Regions from separate parts of the Homo sapiens genome. Here regions 1, 2, 3, 5, 6 and 7 are each linked to region 4. Evidence: promoter capture Hi-C in 16 types of primary human blood cells and fetal thymus (Javierre and others, 2016). All regions are on one chromosome and are shown on one strand. The core of a region is centred on a gene start or on the middle of the fragment in contact, and the rest is flanking DNA. Distances in the headings are between cores, read along the strand shown.

What was found. Contacts are between HindIII fragments. The CHiCAGO score rates a contact against its expected background, and 5 or more counts as called.
Region 1: a contact is called between a fragment that was not itself captured here and the fragment with the promoter of NUBPL in region 4, in 16 of 17 cell types (total CD8 T cells, naive CD8 T cells, total CD4 T cells and 13 more). The highest score is 16.1, in total CD8 T cells.
Region 2: a contact is called between a fragment that was not itself captured here and the fragment with the promoter of NUBPL in region 4, in 5 of 17 cell types (M1 macrophages, erythroblasts, M0 macrophages and 2 more). The highest score is 6.6, in M1 macrophages.
Region 3: a contact is called between a fragment that was not itself captured here and the fragment with the promoter of NUBPL in region 4, in 1 of 17 cell types (monocytes). The highest score is 5.0, in monocytes.
Region 5: a fragment that was not itself captured here is called in contact with the fragment with the promoter of NUBPL in region 4 in 3 of 17 cell types (naive CD8 T cells, total CD4 T cells and naive CD4 T cells); the score reaches 9.9 in naive CD8 T cells.
Region 6: a fragment that was not itself captured here is called in contact with the fragment with the promoter of NUBPL in region 4 in 1 of 17 cell types (total B cells); the score reaches 7.5 in total B cells.
Region 7: a contact is called between a fragment that was not itself captured here and the fragment with the promoter of NUBPL in region 4, in 5 of 17 cell types (naive B cells, total CD8 T cells, naive CD8 T cells and 2 more). The highest score is 7.0, in naive B cells.

What each region holds. Positions count from the first base shown.
Region 1 is chr14:32,251,510-32,254,281 of GRCh38, forward strand. No RefSeq gene overlaps it. Among named protein-coding and RNA genes, the nearest start is that of RNU6-8, 50 kb to the left of the region's middle. The HindIII fragment of the contact is 2,285 bases long and covers 214-2,498 here.
Region 2 is chr14:32,471,404-32,474,479 of GRCh38, forward strand. The region is part of intron 2 of AKAP6 (A-kinase anchoring protein 6); the gene reads left to right. Among named protein-coding and RNA genes, the nearest start is that of AKAP6, 140 kb to the left of the region's middle. The HindIII fragment of the contact is 4,486 bases long and covers 1-3,076 here.
Region 3 is chr14:30,608,671-30,611,636 of GRCh38, forward strand. The region is part of intron 12 of G2E3 (G2/M-phase specific E3 ubiquitin protein ligase); the gene reads left to right. Among named protein-coding and RNA genes, the nearest start is that of SCFD1, 12 kb to the right of the region's middle. The HindIII fragment of the contact is 1,846 bases long and covers 586-2,431 here.
Region 4 is chr14:31,559,767-31,562,653 of GRCh38, forward strand. NUBPL (NUBP iron-sulfur cluster assembly factor, mitochondrial) reads left to right here and starts at 1,638. Exons shown (of 11, transcript NM_025152.3): 1 at 1,638-1,781; 2 at 2,302-2,449. The coding sequence starts at 1,674. It overlaps NUBPL-DT (NUBPL divergent transcript), which reads right to left and starts at 1,565. Exons shown (of 3, transcript XR_943720.2): 1 at 1,345-1,565. RefSeq lists enhancers at 1,481-1,880, 1,807-2,362. The HindIII fragment of the contact is 6,263 bases long and covers 851-2,887 here.
Region 5 is chr14:32,102,899-32,106,051 of GRCh38, forward strand. All of the region lies in intron 2 of ARHGAP5 (Rho GTPase activating protein 5), which reads left to right. Among named protein-coding and RNA genes, the nearest start is that of ARHGAP5, 27 kb to the left of the region's middle. The HindIII fragment of the contact is 5,331 bases long and covers 1-3,153 here.
Region 6 is chr14:32,183,435-32,186,622 of GRCh38, forward strand. No RefSeq gene overlaps it. Among named protein-coding and RNA genes, the nearest start is that of RNU6-7, 17 kb to the right of the region's middle. The HindIII fragment of the contact is 1,787 bases long and covers 374-2,160 here.
Region 7 is chr14:32,229,457-32,232,323 of GRCh38, forward strand. No RefSeq gene overlaps it. Among named protein-coding and RNA genes, the nearest start is that of RNU6-8, 28 kb to the left of the region's middle. The HindIII fragment of the contact is 712 bases long and covers 1,006-1,717 here.

The sequences.
Region 1 (2,772 bases), core at 106-2,605, 690 kb after region 4:
AGATAATTTTTTTAAAATGCACATTTTAAAACTTATCTTAAAAAAATCCACAAACCCAACAAAATATTTCTTTTTTCATGATGACTTATTCAGAAATTTGAAAGGCCAAAAGCCTTTTTGATGTATGTGAGAGCTTTCTCTGTCATATGGGGTCTACCAGTCATTTCAGCAAAGAGTTAAGTGAGGCCAAGGAGGCTTCCCTGGCAGCTTGGAAGCTTTGTGCAGCAGCCAAGCCGCGGGCTGAGAGAGGTGGATACTCATTTGTTTGTATATAAAACTTTCATTCCCAAAGTCTTAGATATCACATACAAGGAAAGATGATTGTGAAAATCAGTGATAAACTCAAGTATTTCTCGCCTGTTATGATTGCATTTGTTGTATCCGATTCTGCCTGACAGTATTTGCCACTTGATTGTCTAAACAGAGTTTTAACTGGTAGCAGGGTGAGCATTAATTATTCACATCTAGCAGCTGGCATAAATATGATTGTGTAGGCCCATGTATGTTAATGAGTCTTACAATAAAGCCTTTCGCTTGGAGATCTTCAGCCCTCCCTTCTTTTTGTACCATTTGTGAACTTCATTCTGGAATTGTGTGGCTTGGTAAGGTATAATGTTCTTTGCTTCTGAGGAACTGTGCTGAGGGCTTGTGCAGAGAGTGGCCCATCTAGAAATGTCTCTCAGGACCCTGAAGGCTCCCTTGTTTCCTTTTCCTGTTTCCAGTCGGGCTACAGCAACTGGGTCTGGATATAGCAACAGCACCCCCTAGTGTATTATAGGGTGAGCATGGGTTCCTGGTTAACTCAGTAAGGTGAGGTGTTCTGGCTTCATAGAGTGGAGTGTGAGAAACTGGCAACTTGGCATTTATTAAACAATATAGTTGAGGCTAAATATGCAACAGCAGCATGTCTTCCAGGTTTTGACAGCTGAGAAAGGAAGATAAAGACAGCAGGAAGATAGGGTTTTAGATTACTTTACAAGGATATGAAGGCTAAGGAGAGCCACAGGAGGGAATCAAGAGGTCACTGGGGAAGGGAGCTGTTCCAATGAATAGTTTGCTATTCTTCCAAAGAATCCAAATCTTGGCCATATGTGCAGAAAGGCCTGGCCACAAAGGCCTTCCATTGTTGGCTGAGACTGGAGACCTGCGATGGGGGTTCAAAGCCTTTTGTTAGATGTGAAACTGAAATTCCAAACACTCCAAGCAGTGACTTAAAGGCTACGAAAGTATAAATGACAGGTAGATATTTACCTCAGAACATAGTTTTGATTAAGGAAACTAGACCTTAAGAGAACAAAATGGGGGTGGGGATGGACTATAGAGAGAAGAAAAGAGGGATGCTTTCTTCATTTTGTTCATTTAACGAATATTTGCTGTTGAGCTGCTATTCAGTGCCAGCTTCTATTCTACATACTGGAAATACAGATGTGAATAAAACAGAGTTTCTCTCCTCATGCAGCTTACATTCTTTACAGTTGCCAATAAGCGGGTCACTACAGATCAGTTCTTATGTTTGTATTTTTGAAGTGTGATTTATTTACAGGCAGAATGTGATTTGAGGACATGGAAAGTACCCATCGTTCAAAATTGTTCCCCACCAACCAACCAGTTTTTTTCTGAAATTTCTCAACCAAAACCCCTTGTTAGTTGTTTTCTGAGAGGAGTAGTAATGAATCCAGTTGCTTTGACCTACACTTACTTCTAGTGAAAATGAATGACCTGATGAGACCTAGAGGGATGGGACACTGGGGGGTGGAATTACAATATTGGGACTAGCAAGCTGTAGCCTTGGTGAGTTTGTTTCAGGACCAAGTTTTCCTTATCTATAGAAGTAGCTGTATTCCTGTCAGGTCCCTTCTAGCTCTTATTCTATTTTGTGTGGCAGATAGCATCCAAGAAGATGTAGGACCGGGTGCGGTGGCTCACACCTGTAATCCCAGCACTTTGGGAGGCCGAGGCAGGCGGATCATCTGGGGTCAGGAGTTTGAGACCAGCCTGACCAACATGGAGAAACCCCGTCTCTACTACAAACACAAAATTAGCCGGGCGTGGTGGTGCATGCTTGTAATCCCAGCTACTTGGGAGGCTGAGACAGGGGAATTGCTTGAACTCGGGAGGCGGAAGTTGCAGTGAGCCAAGATTGTGCCATCGCACTCCAGCCTGGGTAACAAGAGCGAAACTCCATCTCAAAAAAAAAAAAAAAAAAAGAAGGTGTGTAGAGCATGGGGCACCCCTGGGACCCCTGGAAAATTATTTGGGGGTAGGAGTAGGACCAGATTAGACACTGAAAAAAAACATGGAGAAGGAACATGATTTGACAGTCAAATTTAGGCTATTTAAAAAAATATTTCTAGGGCATTTATTCTTGGGTTCAATTTCTGACTATAAATTATCTGGAAGGGAGGGTGATACTATGAATATGGTTTTTGCAGATTTTTTGGGAAAGCCCAGTTGGTTTTACTTTTGTGGGTCAAATTAGTTTTGAAGATTATCTATAAAGCTTTCAGTGATAGACCTGACCCCCAAGCCACAGCTGCTTAAATAGCTGTGTGCTGTGGATTTTCTTGTTGTGCAGTGTTTCCTTTTAACTTTCCTGTTCAGGGCAGAAACAGAGTAATGCAGGCCCATATTCTTTGAATCCTAGAGAGCAAGTGACCTACTTACTATTGTACCTGAAATATTCAACTAGAGTATATTTTAGGAAATACTTTTTCAGCTTTAAACATGACTTTGCTTCTGTGAATAAACACTTCAATCGAGAGACACTGACAG
Region 2 (3,076 bases), core at 362-2,861, 910 kb after region 4:
GGTGGTAGTAATAAGAAATTGTGGACCAAAAGCAAGATCATAGTGCTACTTCCTAAACTGTGAATTAGCAGGCTGAACCTTTTAATAGTTTAAGTCTTTCTTGTCAGTGGGGGAATCCAAGTCCATGGCGAGAGCTGAGACTTAGTTTCATAGGCCATTGTCTTTTCTCCTAAGTGTATTATACATTTACTCAATTTTCATTGTAAACCCTTTCAACATTCTCTCACCCAATTTGGGTAGGTGGAATCCTGTACCCCCCACCAGGGCTATAGCTAATATCTTCATTGCACAGTTATTGTTCATTGAGACATGTACCTCCATCCATGGTATAAACTGTTTTTATTATCTGTCTCACCTCCATTTTAACAGTAATTCTGTTGACATTGCTTCTAGACTGGAGTTTGGCTAATAAGACACTGGACACTGTGTTATCTGTGCTAAGGAAGCACAGATAACGCAGCGTGTTAAGCATTCTGGGTCAGGATTTTTGTGCTGGCACAATTGTGAGTAAACCAAGAAAAATAGTCCCTATGAGATTTCTTTCAGACTTCAGCACACAGAAACCTAGTGGATTGTTCCTTAAGATAAAAGAGAGGTTTGAGAATTTACTTTTTGTCATAGTTTGGGTTCCCAGGAATCGGATTCTGAGGCTCTGAGATCTACATGCTGGAGGTTTATTGGGGTGAGTTCTTGGGAAAAGCACCTCTGAGAGGTGAGGGAAGTAAATCAACCAGAGAGAGGAGTTGAACTGCAGCTGTGACAGAGATGGCAGTATTCCTACCCAGAACTCTAAAGTGGCTCCCCTTTTCCCCCAGGCTTTATACCTCCTCCCATTTAGCAGACATGGGATGTGGAAAGCTCCCAGGGAAGGGCATGACCTTGGGTGAGGCAGCTGAGGGCAAGTCCCAGGGAGGGTCTCAGCTGAGAGCAATAAGCAGTCAACACTGCTTAGCAGGTGGGGTAAATAAGTGTCTTGATCATAAGGTGGGGTAGGAGGAGGGCAAGTATAAATGCTGTCCACCGCATTCAATAGAAGTGTTTTCTCTATTATTACTAAAGAATGGCTTGACCCAGAAAAGATCATGGTCTTTAGCCACAGAACTTAATTCTAGGAGAGGCGATATTACAGCAGACTGATCCCTGTAATGCAAATGGCAATGCCCCTCTTTGCTGAGAGGCATTGTGGAGAATGCATGAAAACATGGCAGTGATGTTGGCAGGGAGATGGCAACGAGGTTCTCTGCACCAACTGTCTCCTGCAGCTGGGAAAAGACACACAGCCTGGCTGCCAACTGTTGGGCTCATTGTGCTCTGGCTGAATTTAGTTCCCTCTTATGTCAGCTTGCAATTCTATGTTGAAGAAAATCGGTCTGGTCTGCCACCATCACCATCTCTTAGCAACTAAGAGAGATTGAAACAACAGCTGGGTAATTTGATATTGGGAACTTAAAGGTCGTGAAAATAGAATATAATGGCTGTTTGTATTAAAGGAAAAAAAAAGAGAAAATGATGTAATCCTAATGCTTAGAAATGTTTGGAATGCCACATGGGTTACAAAGAGTGAAAATCTAGTTTAAACTGGTTGGATTCTTTCTCTCTCAGAATGATTAAAGTTGAGCCCAGAAGCTCACCCAAACACACATATTTGCCTAAATATAAATCCCTGTGGAATGTTGGAGCTATAATGTGAAAAACAGTTTCTGTGTTTTTGTATTTTCTCTAAGACTGACCTACAGCTTTCTTATCACAAGTTTTGAAGCAATACTTATAACATAGATGATAATTTAGAGTTATTTTTTACTTTGCTTTTTGTGGGCAATGGGGATGGGGACTGCAGTGAAGATGGGAGAGAATGAGGTGTGGCCCTCAGACATAGTGCTGTGCAGGAAGCCTACTACTTCAGAGGCTGCCCACAGCCTCACATACAACAGGTAATAATAGAATTACATGTTTGAAAACTAGAAAATGAGAAGTAGAAGCCAGATGAAATTGTTAAAACAAGTTTTTCTTTTTTCCCTAGGGCCAGTGAGGAGACCATCTGTTTTTCAAATTAGAAAAGCCAGAAAATATAATGTTTGCTCTCAGAATGAGTCAAATGTCATACTCTAATGAAAATTCCAAAGCAGAAAGAGAGAAAGGAAGAAGAGCTTGAAATGCCAAATTAGTGGGGTGAGGTGCTTGCTGCTTGCATTCCTGCAGATCCAAGCATTTTGCAACTCTAGTAAACCTGCCAGGACAAGGTTCATTTGAAGGGGTGTGGATTACCGGGAGGTGCGGGGGGACTGACATTCTAGTGCTTTAGATGGTAGGTAACTGCCTGGTCTTGTTTCTCAGAATAACTTGTTCATCCACCACATATGTGGCTTTCATCCCAGCACATTGGGCAGGACACCACTGTTTTCTTCGTTTGGTTAATAGTTACACTTCCTTGACACCTCATACAGCTGGGTCATGGATCTGCTGCTGTTCTCAATGTGAGCATCACTGTCTTTTTTTCTTTTTCTTTTTCTTTTTTTGGGACAGGATCTCTGTCACCCAGGCTGGAGTGCGGTGGCACGATCTCAGCTCACTGCAGCCTCCACCTCCTGGGTTCAAGCGATTCTCCTGCCTCAGCCTCTCAAGTAGCTGGGATTACAGGCATGCACCACCGTGCCTGGCTAATTTTTGTATTTTTGGTAGAAACGGGGTTTCACTATGTTGGCCAGGCTGGTCTCAAACTCCTGATCTCAGGTGATCCACCCGCCTCGGCCTCCCAAAGTGCTGGGATTACAGGTGTGAGCCACGGTGCCCAGCCCACTGTCTTTTTTCATCAATGCTAAGAGAATTTAATTCTTTCCACATGAAGCGATTCTACTTCCTCAACACGTGTTTCGTTTTGTGACACAACAACTTGGAGGAGGTGAAATTCATTAACAAGGAATAAATATCTTCTCTTTATGGAGCCACTTCCTTAACCCCTCAAATCTTCCTAGACCACTTCCATCCAACGTAGAATAAGTGAACCATATGAAATTGCTGTTTTTGTGGGTCAAAGGCAATTGAATGGTAGTCTCACATGGTTCAACATCTGTATACA
Region 3 (2,966 bases), core at 259-2,758, 950 kb before region 4:
CATAATGCCATATAAGTGTCATTGCCAACATGTTACTGCTTTAAAAACTGAGACAATGCAAGCCATTTAACTTTTCTTCCTTAACCTCCCTCCTACTTAAGCATATTCTATCCATTGTCTCAATTAACAGGCAGTGTTGTTTAATGATTAAAAGCATAGGCCTTAGCCAGGCGTGGTGGCATGTGCCTGTAATCCCAGCTACTCTGGAGGCTGAGTCACAAGAATAATTTGAATCCGGCAGATGGAGGTTACAGTGAGCTGAGCTCACACCACTGCACTCCAACCTGGGCAACAGAGGGAGACACTGTCTCAAAAAAAAAGCACAGGCTTGGAAGTCAGATTTTACTTTGAATGCCAACTCTTATAACTACTATATGTTGTGTCACTTTGGGCATATTAATCTTACTAAACCTCAGTTTCTAAATCACACAGTAAGCACTATTGAAGTGTGAGTTGCTACAGTGTATTACAACAATTCTGTTTATTTGCCCTAAGACTGCTTATCCTAACATCATGTTTTAAATTGACCCTTTAATTCTTCGTTTTTCTTTTTGTGCCCTCTTTACTAAAAAAAAAGTATATTTAAGCTTCATTGTCTCTACTTCGTATTTCCTATTTATTTCTTGTAATCAGGCTTCTGTCCCTACCACCAGTCTCAAGTTAGCTAGTTCATAGTTTATATCCAGGGAGCTAAATATCCATGTCCAAAGGCCTTTTCTAATTTTTCATCTGCTGTGACTTCTGCAATTACCACTTAGAATTTCTCTGCAATATTTTATTTAATATTGTACTTCCTCCTACTTCTGATGATTCTCTCTTCTTTAATGCTTCTTACTTCTTCTTACCCCTGAAACTTAGCATTTTTCAGTGTTGTCTTAACAGTCATCATTCTTTATTATTTGGAGAGCTTCTTCTCTCCTGTAATCTTTCTGAATGATTTACAGACCTGTATTTTTGAGCCCCCGGACTTTTATATACAGATAAGACCTGGGTCTTGCTAGCACATTGAGTCTAACATGTTTAAGATAAAAATAGTATTTTTCCCAGAATTTTTTGTTTGATTGTTTTTTGTGGGGCTTTTTTGTGTTTTTACCTGTTTGCCTTTTCTTTCCAAGAGACTTCTTACTTCCAAGCTGTCTTGGAGAGTCATTTTCATACTCCTCCATTTTCCAGTTATATGTCAAGTCACCTGCCTCTAAGACTGACTTATTGTCAACCTTTCCTTCCTGTTTCTAGTGTGCCTATTTTACCAAACTCAAATTTTCCCTAGGCTTAGACAATTAGAATGTTGTTCTAATATTCTTATTTGGGATGATTCTTCCAAAAGTACAGTTTTGACCATATTGCTTTCTTCCTCAGGAATCCCCCAGTGGCTTCTCATTGCCTGTTGAACGAAGTTGAAGCTCTTCATTAGGGCATTTAAGACCTTCACCTCTCTTCATGGCTTTATCTACTCCAGTTTCTGTACTTTTTATCCAGTGTTTGTTCATTTATTTAAGAAATACTATGTATTCTGTACTGTTTTGTTACTAAAGATAGAGTAGTGAAGCAAAGTATCTGCCTTCTTGGAATTTACATTAAGAGAGAACACAGAAGATAAACAACAAATGTAATATGCCATCACGTAGTAAAATGTATTATAATGCTAAATAAAACAGAATATGGCCGGGCGCAGTGGGTCACGCCTGTAATCCCAACACTTTGGGAGAACAGGTGGGTGGATCACCGGGGTCAGCAGTTCGAGACCAGCCTGGCCAACATGGTGAAACCCCATCTTTACTAAAAATACAAAAAAATTAGCCAGGTGTGGTGGCGCGCGCCTATAGTCCCAGCTGCTTGAAAGGCTCGCTTGAGCCCGGGAGGCAGAGGTGGCAGTGAGCCGGGATCATGCCACTGCACTCCAGCATGGGCAACAGAGTGAGACTCCATCCCAAATAAATAAATGTATACATAAATACATACATGCATACATACAACAGAATAAAAGGAGATGGATAAGGGTTGGAGTATATACAAGTTAGGTTTTAGGCTAAACTTCTGTATCTCATAGACCCAGAAAGACAGTGGCTCAAACAAGGCAGATGTTTACTGTTCTGTAAAATCCATTGTCTAGATTTTAGGGTAAGAGTTGGCAAAAAATGGCCTGTAAGTCACGTTCTGGCTTGTTGCCTGTTTGGTAAATAGTTACATTGGAATGCAGCCATGCCCATTTGCTACTGATCTGACTGCTTTCACGCTACAGTGGCAGAGTTGAGTAGCTGCAACAGATACCATATAGTTTGAAAAGCATAAAATGCTATCTGGCCCTTTATACAGATGGCCCTCTGTTTTCGAGATAGAGTTGTGATTTACAAAACCGTCTAAGGACTTGAGTTCCTTCCTCTCATTATCGTGTAACACTTAGCATTATTGTTTGCATCCACATGGTTGAAGCTTGCTCTTAAAGGAGAAAAGTGGAAGTTGAGAGCAGGGAAGTTTGACATGTTGTTTTTACTTACATCCCATTGAACAGTCATGTAGCCCCACCTAGCTGCAGCAAAAGTTTGGCTATGTGCCCAGCTGAAACTCAGGGTTGAGGGTTTGCAGGGATGAGGCAACATATACCCAATTATTACTCCGACAGGGTGTAAAGATAGTATTTTGAGCAGAATAGTCATGAAAAACTTAGGAGATTTCAGCAGAGATTTTGAATGAATGAAAAGAAGTCATGTAAATCTCTAAGAATGTTTTAGGAAAAGGAAATTGCAAGTAAATTTTCTGTTAATGGATTGTTTCCTATTTTTAACTTTCTCCATCTGTACCTTTAAGAGCTAACCTGTATGAAAGTGTCTTGCACATAAATGGCCAAGTATTTCTTTGTTTATGCTGTTCACTAAAATATTCTTGATAAAATTCTGTCCATCTTTTAATTCTCAGCTGTTACTCTTTTTCATGAATTCTCAGGTCATCTTTCTTGCCTATCTAGT
Region 4 (2,887 bases), core at 388-2,887:
AAGCACATCTTGCACCGCCCTTAATCCATTTAACCCTGAGTGGACACAGCACATGTTTCAGAGAGCACGGGGTTGGGGGTAAGGTTATAGATTAACAGCATCCCAAGGCAGAATAATTTTTCTTAGTACAGAACAAAATGGAGTCTCCTATGTCTACTTCTTTCTACACAGACACAGTAACAATCTGATCTCTCTTTCCTTTCCCCACATTTCCCCCTTTTCTATTCGACAAAACCGCCATCGTCATCATGGCCCGTTCTCAATGAGCTGTTGGGTACACCTCCTAGACAGGGTGGCGGCTGGGCAGAGGGGCCCCTCACTTCCCAGACGGGGTGGCCGGGCAGAGGTGACTCCACCTCCCGGACGGGGTGGCGGCCGGGCGGGGTCTGCCCCCCACCTCCCTCCGGGACGGGGCGGCTGACCGGATGGGGGCTGCCCCCCACGTCCCTCCCGGACGGGGCAGCTGGCCGGGCGGGGGCTTTTCTCTCTTCTTTCATCTTTCTTCCTTCTACTCTCTTCTTCTTTCTTCTTCCTTCTTCTTTCTTCTCCTTTTAATTTCCTCTTCCTCCTTCCTCCTTCCTTCTTTCTTCTTCTTCTGACAAGGTGTCACTCTGCTGCCCACGCTGGAGTGCAGTGGTGCAATCATAGCTCACTGCATCCTTGAACTCCTGGCTCAAGCAATCCTCTTGCTTTGGCCTCCCAAAGTGTTGGAATTACACGCGTGAGCCACCATGCCTAGCCTTAGCAGTCCATTTCTAACCTCTTTACAACAATCTCCTTGCCATTCTCCCAGCTAACTTCTACACATTATTCAGATTCAGCATTCAGCTTAGATATTACCTAATTTAGAAGCTTCCCCTGATTGAATTGAGTGCCCTTTCTTTGTATCACTTTGTCCTTTCTCCTGTATCCCTCAATGCTTTTCTCCTGTACTTATCATATTATACCGCAATTTTGTTGTTAACTTATTCTGTCTTTTGCACTGGATTATAAAGCCCTTTAGTGGAGGAATTATGTCGGTCTCAATGCTGAATATTTTAAGTCTACTGTAGTACTCGGTACATAGTAGTTGCTCAACGAATATTTGTTAAATAAATGAGTCTTAAGTCTGGAAGAACTTGCAAAGTTCTTTACCAGGTTGCTGGTAAAGCAACCTGACCTTTCTTTCAGGGAACTGTCAGCAACACAAGCCATGAATACCAACGCAAAACAGACTCTCACTGTAGATCACACGGGAAAAAATAAAATAAAAAGGTAAAATCCTTAACGGTGGTAGTATTTAAATGACCATATACTGCTTAGTAAGAAATCCTGGGGTCATTTTCAAGGTCCCCCATTTCCTACTTTTGTTAAGCTGGGTCAAGTCTCTTTAAACTTTCTCCGTTTTCTTGTCCATAAAAAGAGTATACTAGGTAAGTCTTCTGTCTACCTCGGGACTTCTGTAAGTATCATAAGAGATGTTTTATATGACAACACTTCACAAACGTTTAGTAAAACGCTGCAAAATGTTTGTAGCTGGCTATAAACAAGATCATGCAGATTGGGTTCCTGAGCCAACAAACCCAAAGAAGACCGGTTGCTAGGAAGAGAAAGCCGAGCGTTGCTCCGTGACGTCATCACTCCGCGCCACCCGCGACAGTTTCCCAGCAGGGCTCACAGCAGCGTTCCGCGTCATGGGGATTTGGCAGCGTCTGCTGCTTTTTGGTGGGGTGTCGCTCCGGGCTGGTGGCGGGGCCACTGCCCCGCTTGGGGGAAGCCGAGCGATGGTTTGTGGGCGCCAGGTCCGTGGTGCTGCAGGGCAGGGGGAAGCGGGCTGACAGATGCTGGGCTGCAGGGCCGCAGATGCCCTGGCATTGCTTCTTGCCAAAGACTCGCCTCAGTTCCTGAGACCCCCAGTGTGCTGGACGTGCCTACTTTTCAGGCAGGCCCAGGCTGAGGCGTGGCGGGACTTGAAACACAGTTAGAACGTAGATGTGGTATTCTACATTGCTTTCTTGGCTTTGGGTTATTTATCAAATAGATTGAAGAAAAGCAAAACACGTGGAAGCCTTATCTCCGTAAAGAGGCAGCGTTTTTACATTTTTAAACGTTCAGCGTATCCTGCTAGAAAAATTTCAATTTAAGCAATGTGTCTTTACAATTGTTATCAGTAGTAGTAGGTAAATGTCTCCATAGTGAAGATGAGCAGAATTAGAAAAGAAAGCCCTCTTAATTGCAAACCCCAGATTGTTTTTGCTTTTACAGTGTGATGATGGAGATGGCTTATTTAAAACGGCTTTTTATTATTATTATTTTTTAAAGTTGTCTGGCGCCGGGAGTGAGACCCTAAAACAAAGAAGAACACAAATCATGTCCCGAGGACTTCCAAAGCAGAAACCGATAGAAGGTGTTAAACAAGTTATAGTTGTGGCTTCTGGAAAGGGTGGAGTCGGAAAATCTACTACAGCAGGTATTATAGGATATTAATTCTATTCCTGATTAAGAACTTATGCCAACAGACAAGTGCACACTATTGAAATTATAGTTTTGTGTTTTAAAAATTTATTTGTGAAGTTCCTAACATGTGATTCCTTAGTTTCAGGAGTTGGTAGCGGGTAGACGCTTAGATTTTGGAGTTAGACAAAAGTAGGTACTAGCCGGGTCTCCCACCCCTTAACTCAGGAAAAAGTGGTCAGATTGTACAGCAAATCTTCAGTTCACTTAACTGTAAAATGGAGATAACTTCTTTCATAAGATGGTTATTCAAATTGCACAAGCTAACCACTTAGCTTAGTGTTTACTAGTGTTCAATAATTGGTTGCTGTTATTTTTAAAACATCTAGTAACTTTTTTTTTTTGTTTTTTTTTTTTTTTTTGAGACGGAATCTCGCTCTGTCACCCAGGCTGT
Region 5 (3,153 bases), core at 510-3,009, 540 kb after region 4:
TTGGTCATTCATTGGCTCTGCTTTCAAGAAATTCAGTCTAATAAAATTGATTTTGCTGAAAATTAAATATGTTTTATATTTTCAACAAGTTTAGCCAGACTTCTGGTTCTTTCTCATATTTCATCTCATCTGGAAAGAATTTACTTAGGCTTTCTTCAGTACCATTTCTATTGCTTTCTTCCTGGGTAACTGGCTAAATTGATCTACCTGGTTAACTAGATCTGTGATGTTTCTATAATTTCTCATAAAGTTAAAATTTGTTTCTTCAGCATTTTTGGTGCTGGCTACACCAATTTATGATAACATAAGTGTGGATATGTAGTGCAAGTATTTCTGGCAGTATTTTACTATTTGCCATTTCTTTGAATTCTGTGTTGTCCATTTGATCATGATTTATTGCTTTTCAAATTCAGATTGAAATGTAATTAGATGGTTAATTTTTAAAGTATATTTCTGATTTATATATTTTGTTAAGACTTAATTGGAAAGATTATGTCAGTGGCATACATTTTCGCTAATTTAAATTTGGCTTTCTATACAAACTTTTTCTTAGTGTTTATAGCAGCGTACTGAATATTTTGTAAAAGCATAGTACAGATTATTGAAGTTACTCATTTCTGCAGCAGATTAATAGTAAATGTTAAGTATGTGTCAAGGAGGCACTTCTGTAACATAGATAATTGTGTTCTTATGTTAATGGACAGTTGTTACTATTGCAAGACTATAGGTAAATTTATAGGTTTGCCAATTTATGTACACCAAAATTTTGTATACTACAAATTGTGTCAATCCTAGGAGAGGTTTTTTACAGTAGATGCAGTGTTATGATTTCTTGCTCTGTAATGTTTTCCTGTCATCTCAGCTAAAGTGTGGATGGAGTACTCAAGTAAATAGGGCTTAATCTGTGACTTTTAAAGAAGAGAAACCCCAGAGCATAGGAGGGTTGCTTTTTAAAAATAGTAGTAATTTTTGATGTTTAGAATCCTTACAACAAAATATAAGGATATGACAAAAGAGATCTTATGATTGTATCGTAGTCAAAATAAAGGGTACAACTTGCATACATTGTATAACAATTGTTTTGAACTTTTTGGAAATTGTTCTTAGCCTTTGAAAATCTGAGTCAAGGTTTGGGTATTTTCCCTAGAAAAATGCACATGCACAAAATTTTACTGGAGTTTTAACGGTTTCAAATACTTTCTAAAGGCCTGTGGATCCCAGTTTAAGAAACTCCTTGTATAAGATGAGAGGGAGGAGGAAGACACTGAAATTTGGGGAAGCTGGGTAGAAATCCACCCATTCACTTGAATAGTTAGTTGCTTTGCTAGAACTTTCTCCAAGTGACTCCAGGTTTATTTTTTGTTAAGTTGTTAATGGCATTAATAAAATATCTGCCACATATATAATATATGTTGAAATGCTTTTTAGGAAGATGTTATCTTAGAGAATAAAGGTTCCTGAGTCAAGGTTAAAATTAGTTTGCCTGATAAGTATGTACAAAAACCTAGACCACATTTATTTACTCTGTTGTTTTTTATTTCCTCTTTTCACCTAGTGTTAGCATAAAGGGTGTGAGAGAGTCTTCACAATGTAAGTTTTCTGAAGTGTGTTTGGACTTTCAGCCAGCACTTACGGCTTTTATAGGCTTAAAAAAGGGATTAAATAAACCTTTAGAGTGCTGGGTCCCCTGAAGGCTTCTTTCTTACACCAGTGTGTTAAACTATAATGTAATGCTGCTTCTCACTGCCTGATCACTTTATATTGTAGTTTAATTTTGTTTTTCTATGTTATAACCTTTCTGAGGGCAGTTATGGTTATCATTCAACTTTGTATAACCTGCAGTATTGTTTCTCAGTCTTGAGTCGTGTATGGACCTTTTTTAAAGTTAAAATTCTCAGGCTTTTCAGAAATATATCTGTAGCTATTTCCCAAACTTGAGTTATTGGTCTTTGTTTTTACTAGTCTAGCACAGTGGCTATCAACCAGGGTCAGTTTGGCCCTCCAGGAAGCATATGGCAATGTCTAGAGACATTTTTGGGTGTCACAACTGGAAGTAGGAGGTTGCTGCTGGCATCTAGTGGGTAGAAGCCAGGGTTACTGCTAAACATTGAATTGCTAAACTGAATTGCAGAATTCACAGGCCATCTTCCACAACAAAGGATTATACAGCCCAAAGTGCCAATAATCTTGAAGTTGAGAAACCCTGGTGTAGGAGACTATGTCTTGAAAAAAATGTCTATGCAGTTCTAGAAGTCAGTCATACAAGGCATGTTTGTATCTGTTCAATAAGAAAGGTAGGGTTTTCCATATAGGTCATAGCGTTTTCTTCCCCAGCCTCACCGTGATTGGGTAAGAATATATTTTCAGGATTATGTTAACTGTGGGCCAGAGCTACATGCTATTGTCATTTATCATACTCGACTGTTTATCATTCATTATTCTGCTATAAAATGTGTTGCTTCCGTTCCATTTTCATACTAGTTGAGGTTGTCATTATTTCTTACCTGCATTATCACAAATACCTTTTTTAAAGAAATAAAGATTCTATTTTGAGCTAATTGTTGATTCATATGCTATTGTTTTTTTTTTTAAAAAAAAGAGAGACCCCATGTGCTCTTTGCCCATTTTCCCACAATGGTAATATCCTGCAAAACTATAGTACAATATCACAGCCAGGGTGTTGACATTAATATGATCTACAGATCTTATTCAGATTTCCCCAGTTTTACTTGTACTAATTTGTACATGTGTATATTTTGTTCTTTGCAGTTTTTCATGTGTATAGGTTTGTGTGTCCCTCCCATAGTCAAGATGTAAAACAGTTCCATCCACTAGCAAATTAACTTGTTTTGTCTTTTTATAACTACATGCTTTTCCTTCTCCTCACCCATCCCTAACCACTGATAGCCACTACTCTGTTTTTCATTTCTATAATTTTGTCATTTCAAGGATGTTATATAAATGGAATCACAGGGCATATAACTTTCTGGGATTGACTTTCATTTACCATAATGCCCTTGAGATTCAGCCAAGTTGTTGCGTGCATCAACAGTTTGTTCTTTTTATTGCTGAATAATATTCCATAATATGGATACATCAGTGTTTTAACCTGTTGAAGGACATCAGGTCGTTCCAGTTTTTGTCCATCTTGAA
Region 6 (3,188 bases), core at 17-2,516, 620 kb after region 4:
GTGCCAAATATGATGCTAGAAATTGGAGATATATTTTTTTAAAAGATGTGATCTCCAAGGTCCTCATAATCTAGAGGGGGAGATGGACCAATAAAGAGAAAATTACAGTTCAGTGTTATTTCCCCGGGGGGTGTGACAGCTCAGAAAAGGTCACCTAATCCAGACTCCAGTAAAAGTGGGAGGACTCTCTTAGAAGGCAAGGTTGCACAAAAAAGTTGCTGTCAGCAATATAGTTAACAAAACCTGATTTGGTCAATTGATTAGGATATGTTGTATTTGAGGCCAACTTCATATATTCCTTTCTACAGAAGCTTCTTATTTTACTTTTTTTTTTTGGTTTTGTTTTGTGTATCCCTAAGCAACATGTTACAGAAGCTTCTTATCTTAGCCATGGTCTGTGGTCACAAATGGTATACTTAACTCACATCAGACTTCCTGCAAACACATGCAACATATGATAACCATGGGCCTTGAAAAGAGAGAGATGGATGGATCCATCACATTTTCACTCTTACTAGAAGAAATAGCTTAGAGCAGATGGCCTTGTGGTGCAGTGTGGATAAGAGCATCTTTTTAAATGAAGAATAAAAGATATTTATTCTAGTGAACAGACAGCTTGGCTTCTCAGTAGAGCATTTAGATACATATTTAATATTCTGACAATTAAAAATTATTTTGCTGCTGTCCCTGACTTCTGTATATGGACAAATTATACCCATAGATCATATACCCACCAGTCCAGGACCCAGAAAAAAATTTGCAACACTTAGAGAAACTTTTTCAAAATAGTTATGTTCCAAAGCAACAGTAATAGATTGTTTAGTGTTTGTGGATGTTTGTCTCATGTTAGGACATTATAAAGGAGAGGATCAGTTGGTGAAGAAGGGTGAATCAGTAGTAATTGTTTGATGACATGTTTGCCGAAAACTTCCCAGAGAGAGTTCTAATATATCATTTAAAGTTTCAATTCAGTAAACATTTATTAAACACCTGCTGTGTGCAAAGACCCTCAGAAAACCAAAAGACAAGTAGCAGTCAGCCTCTAATCTCATACTTCCAATTAGAAGAACAAGATTAATAGAGAAATGACTAGATATGTACGTAAGGTAAGTAGAAAAGTACAAAATGTTTATGTGGATGACACTGTTTATGACAGAATAATAGCTTTAATTTTTCACAATGAACATTTTAATCAAAGTTTAACACATATGTAGAAAAGTGCACAAATTAGAAGTATATAGCTTGATGAATTATTGAAGAATAAACACACCAGTATAACTACCACACAGTTAAATAGATTGAATATCACAATTCCAGAAGCCCACCATATGCCTAGTCATTTTCTACACTCCTTATTAAAAGATAATGGCTATTCTGTTTTCCAACACAGTAGACTAGTTTTGCCTAGTTTTGCACAGTAGACTAGTTTTGGAACTTCATAAAAATGAGGCAGAGTAGACTCTTTTGTGTTTGGCTTCTTTCACTCAACGTTATGTTTGTGTGATTCATCTATGTTGTTGTGGCTCTGAATACATATTTCTTAATTAATTTATTCTCTTGTTGAAGACAAGATATTTGGGTTTTTAGGAACAATGCTTCTATGCATAATCATGTGTAGATACACACGTGGGTTGCTGGATCACAGAGTATGTGTACGTTCAGCTTTAACAGATACTGACAAATAGTTTTCAAAATGGTTGCATCAATTTATACTCTCACTGGAATTGTATGAAAATTAGAATACTCCACATCTCTGCCAACCCTGGGTGCCAGCCTTTTAAGATAGTTTTAATATGCATTTCACTGATGACCAATAACAATGAGACTTTTTCATATGTGTATTGGCCATTTGGATATCTTCTTCTGTAAAGTGCCTGTTCAGGTGTTTTGCCCATTTTTCAGTTGTCTTTTTCTTATTGATTTGCTGGAATTCTTTATATATGAGCCCTTTGTTGGTTATATGTATTGCAAATATCTTCTACTCATGAGTTTACCTTTTCATTTTCTTAATGGTGATGTTTTTGGGATGAACATAAATCCCCAATTTTAGCGTAGCTAATCTTTTCCTTATCAATAGTTAATACTTTTTGCTTCCAGTCTAAGAAAACCTTCTCTACTTCAAAGTCAGTAACATACTTTCTTATGTTATTATTCTCTAGAAGCTTTATTATCTTACCTTTTATATTTAGATACACATTCTATCTGGAAATAATTTTCAGGTATGGCATGAGGTAGAAATTAAGATTTCTGCAAACAGATACAGTTGAGTCAATATTGTTTATTGTTTGTTTGTTTGTTTGTTTGTTTGTTTGGAGATGGAGTCTTGCTCTGTCATGCAGGCTGCAGTGCAGTGGCCCAATCTTGGCTCACTGCAACCTCTGCCTCCCGGGTTCAAGTGATTCTCCTGCCTCAGCCTCCTGAGTAGCTAGGATTACAGTGGTTTTTGTATTTTTAGTAGAAACGGGGTTTCACCATGTTGGCCGGGCTGGTCTTGAACTCCTGACCTCAGGCGATCCGTCCAACTTGGCCTCCCATAGTGCTGGGATTACAGGCATGAGCCACCACGTCTGGCTGCCAATATTGTTTACTGAAGCGATTGCCCTTTCCCCATTGCCCTTCAGTGCTACCTTGTCATAAATCAGGTGCCCTTTTGGTTCTATTAATCTATTTGTCCATCTTTTGTGCCAATACCAGATAGTCTTAATAAATAATGTATAGCTTTTTGACAGGCAAAGGAAAGAGGGAGAGGTAGCCCAGGGAGGTGTAACTACAGCAAGAGAAAGAGTAGATTTCCCCTGCCATACAGTCTCCATCCCACCTCCTTGGCCTCCTCAGGAACCTGCCTCCATCAATGATCTCCCCTCATCCCTGAATCTTCACTCTGTGCTCTACTCTTTGCCATCAACATATAAACATGTCCAAGTTTCTGTAATGAAAAAAACAAAAAAAGGCTCTTTTACTTTATATCTGCTTCTGCAGCTTTCATTTCCTTTATGGCCAAGCTTATTGAAAGAATGATTTCATTTTCACTTCCTGTCTCCCATTAACTTAACATCTCACCTCTATGATTTGCACCTGCAGCTTGTACTTCCACCCACTCCCCCAGTCAAGGTCATCAATATATATTTTTTTAGTTATTATCTTGTTTTCTCACTCTTCCAATATGGTCTCCTTTGCTGGCTAGAATT
Region 7 (2,867 bases), core at 112-2,611, 670 kb after region 4:
GGAGGAGCAAAGGGTGAAGCATGATTCCCAGGTCTTTGATTTGGGCAGTGATGGAGTGTGGTGCCATCAATAAGACAGGGACCATAGAAAGAAATGGGTGAGGAAAGGTGGTAGAGAAAACAGTGGGTTCAGTTTTCTACAGTTGGAGTTTGAGGAGCTTGTGGGACATCCTAGAGATGTGTAGGTGGCAGTTGGATGAATGGACCTGAAGTTCTGAAGAGAGCTATCAATTGAAGTACAAATTTGGGAGTTTATGATGTAGATATGGGAATAGATATGGGAGTAGATGCATTTTTTCAAGGAAATACCAACATTTATTGTCTTGGCAGAAAGGGAGGTACAAAATAAACCTAACTGTGAGTAGCCAGAGAGCTAGAAGGCAAACACAGAGAGGCATACTTGGGGAATAGAGAATTTAAAGACAGAGGGAAAGGTCCACCTTCCTCACCTTTGGGTCATCCAGTCTCTAGGTTCCTAAATAATTCAGTGTGCTTTTGGTCAGTAAGTCCTAGAATAGGGGGGGGAAAAAGCATATCAAACCACTGCTGTGTGAATGCTATAGCCCTAGGTCATTGGTCTGTTTTATTTAAACATATCTAGGTTCTGCTCCCTCTGAGGATTTTACCTAATGTTAAAGAGAATGAGAAGAAATACTCTTTATACATTATAAAACTATGCTAATAGTAACCAGCAGGGAAATTGACCTATAAATACTCTGAGCACATTAAGGTAAGCACATTTTTTTAAAGTTACGTCTTTTGGCTATGGTCTAATGTGATGATTAGTGAAAATGGAATTGAAGAGTGACAGGAAATATTAATGGCAGGCAGCACACAGTCGTTTGGCCTTAGAAAGAACAACGGACTTTATCTGTTCCCAGAGGGAAAATTTGATGAGTAATGACCTTGATACACATTTTAAACACTCTGACAATGAAGTAATAGGTGCTGCTTTTGCTCTTTGACCAGCAGATTCTCCTTTGCTGCAGTTAGGTGTACTACTTAAAGCTTGTTTAGAGGGCCACCTAAGGGTACAGGCAGAAGCATCACAACATCTATATTTCTGTTATAGGCAGTGATGAGTACTATGAGCCTCTTATAAGAGGCTGCAAGGGGTTGCTGTACCATCAGGCCTACTTTCCTTGGAGAGGGAATAAAGCAAGTCCAAGGTGCTCAAGAAGGTACACTTTCCCAAAACATCCCACTCCCCACGTTGCTGATTAAGATCTAATGATTCACATTTAGATGCCCTTCCACCCCCATCCCCATCCTGACAACACAAAATTTGAGTCAAGCCTCAACCTTGCTAAGTAAACAGATTTGTACTTGTTACTCTTAGCAGCACTGGAGTCTAAAGACAGACTATGTGGGAAGGCAGATTCTTAGTTACCTCCTCCCCAAGCTGTTGCAGGAATTTCAGATCCCTGCTTGCCAAAGCACTTTTATGGGGTTAAGAATTTTTTTGTGTGTGTTGGGGATAGGGGAATGTACAGCCTTGAGTGACTCATGCCCTTCTCTGGGCCTCAGTTTTTCCCTGTTAGGAGGGAAAGGAGCTGTATTAGGGGATCCTTGAGTTTCCCTAAGCCTGGCCTGTATCCCCTCACCAACTGGATCCACGAGCCAGAGCCTGCTTTAGCCAGGCCCATTCTCTGGTTGGCTTGGCTGGCTTTAGAGGGCTGCAAATAGGCAAATCACTATTTGTCAGTCTGTAGAGAGGAAGCTTATTTGCAGTGGGAACACCGTAGGAGGAGATTTCTAAGTTGAAAATGCAGGTACTCCTCCTCTGGGGAATGGAAGAAAGACAAAGAGCCCATTAAGGGTTCTAGAAATCAGAATGGTTAGATTCTTCCTGGCCCTGTCAACGTTTGCCTATTACCCTGGCCTCATCGGTTGGCATTTGCTTGTGTGAAAAGGTTCCAGGTTTAGAGAAAGGGTGTCGGAGGCAGACAAACCTAGCTCTGTCACTTGGTTGTTGTGTGATCATGTATGAATTGCTGGAATTTCTGCACCTCATTTTCTTTTTTAAGGATGTTTCATAGGCCTGCAGGAGGACTAAATGAGATACATAATACATGTGAAACAGGAATGCAGAGCCTGGCATGGGAAGGGGTTACCTCCTTCCTCCTGCAGTCCTTCTCTTCACTTTCATCTTTGCTCACATGTTATTCTCCCTACTGGAAACTCACCTTCAGTGCTCTGTGAGGCCCTCCTGTCTGTGCCAGTGCTCAAGTCCTCCTGGTACCCTAGCATGCATTGCCTCACCTCACATTTTAGTAACAGCCTTCTTATATTCTTTCACTGGTTTTGCCCATCTAGATTACTGCTCTCTGAGGGAGGTATCCTGTCAAATACTGGTAATCTTTCTTCAATTCCTGGTAAGGTGTTAGGTACATAGTAGGGGCCTAAGCAATATTTGAATGAATGATTATAGAAAGAACCAGTTACAGAGAGCAAGAGGGGGCAGTATGGGCAGTGGGTAAGGCCTGTATGGATGCTAAAACCAGCCTGCCTGGGTTTGAATTCTGGTGCTGCCAGTTTTTAGCTTTGCAACTTTAAAAGAGTTGCTGAACTTTACCCCTCAGTTTTCTCATCTGTATAGTGGCAGTGGTAAAAATAGTACCTTTCTCCTAGGGTTATTGTGAAGATTGAGTAAGTTAGTATTTACAGTGTTTAGACCAGTGCCTGGCACTTAATGCTATATAAGAACCCACCATTATTATTTTAAAGATCAGACACGCTTGAGTTGAAAGCCTGCTCTACTACTTACTAATGATGTGACTGCAGGCAGAAATTATTCAACTTCTCTGTGCTTCAACTTCCTTCTCTGTAAAATAGGGATAACCTATCAACGTAAATAGTGATAAATAG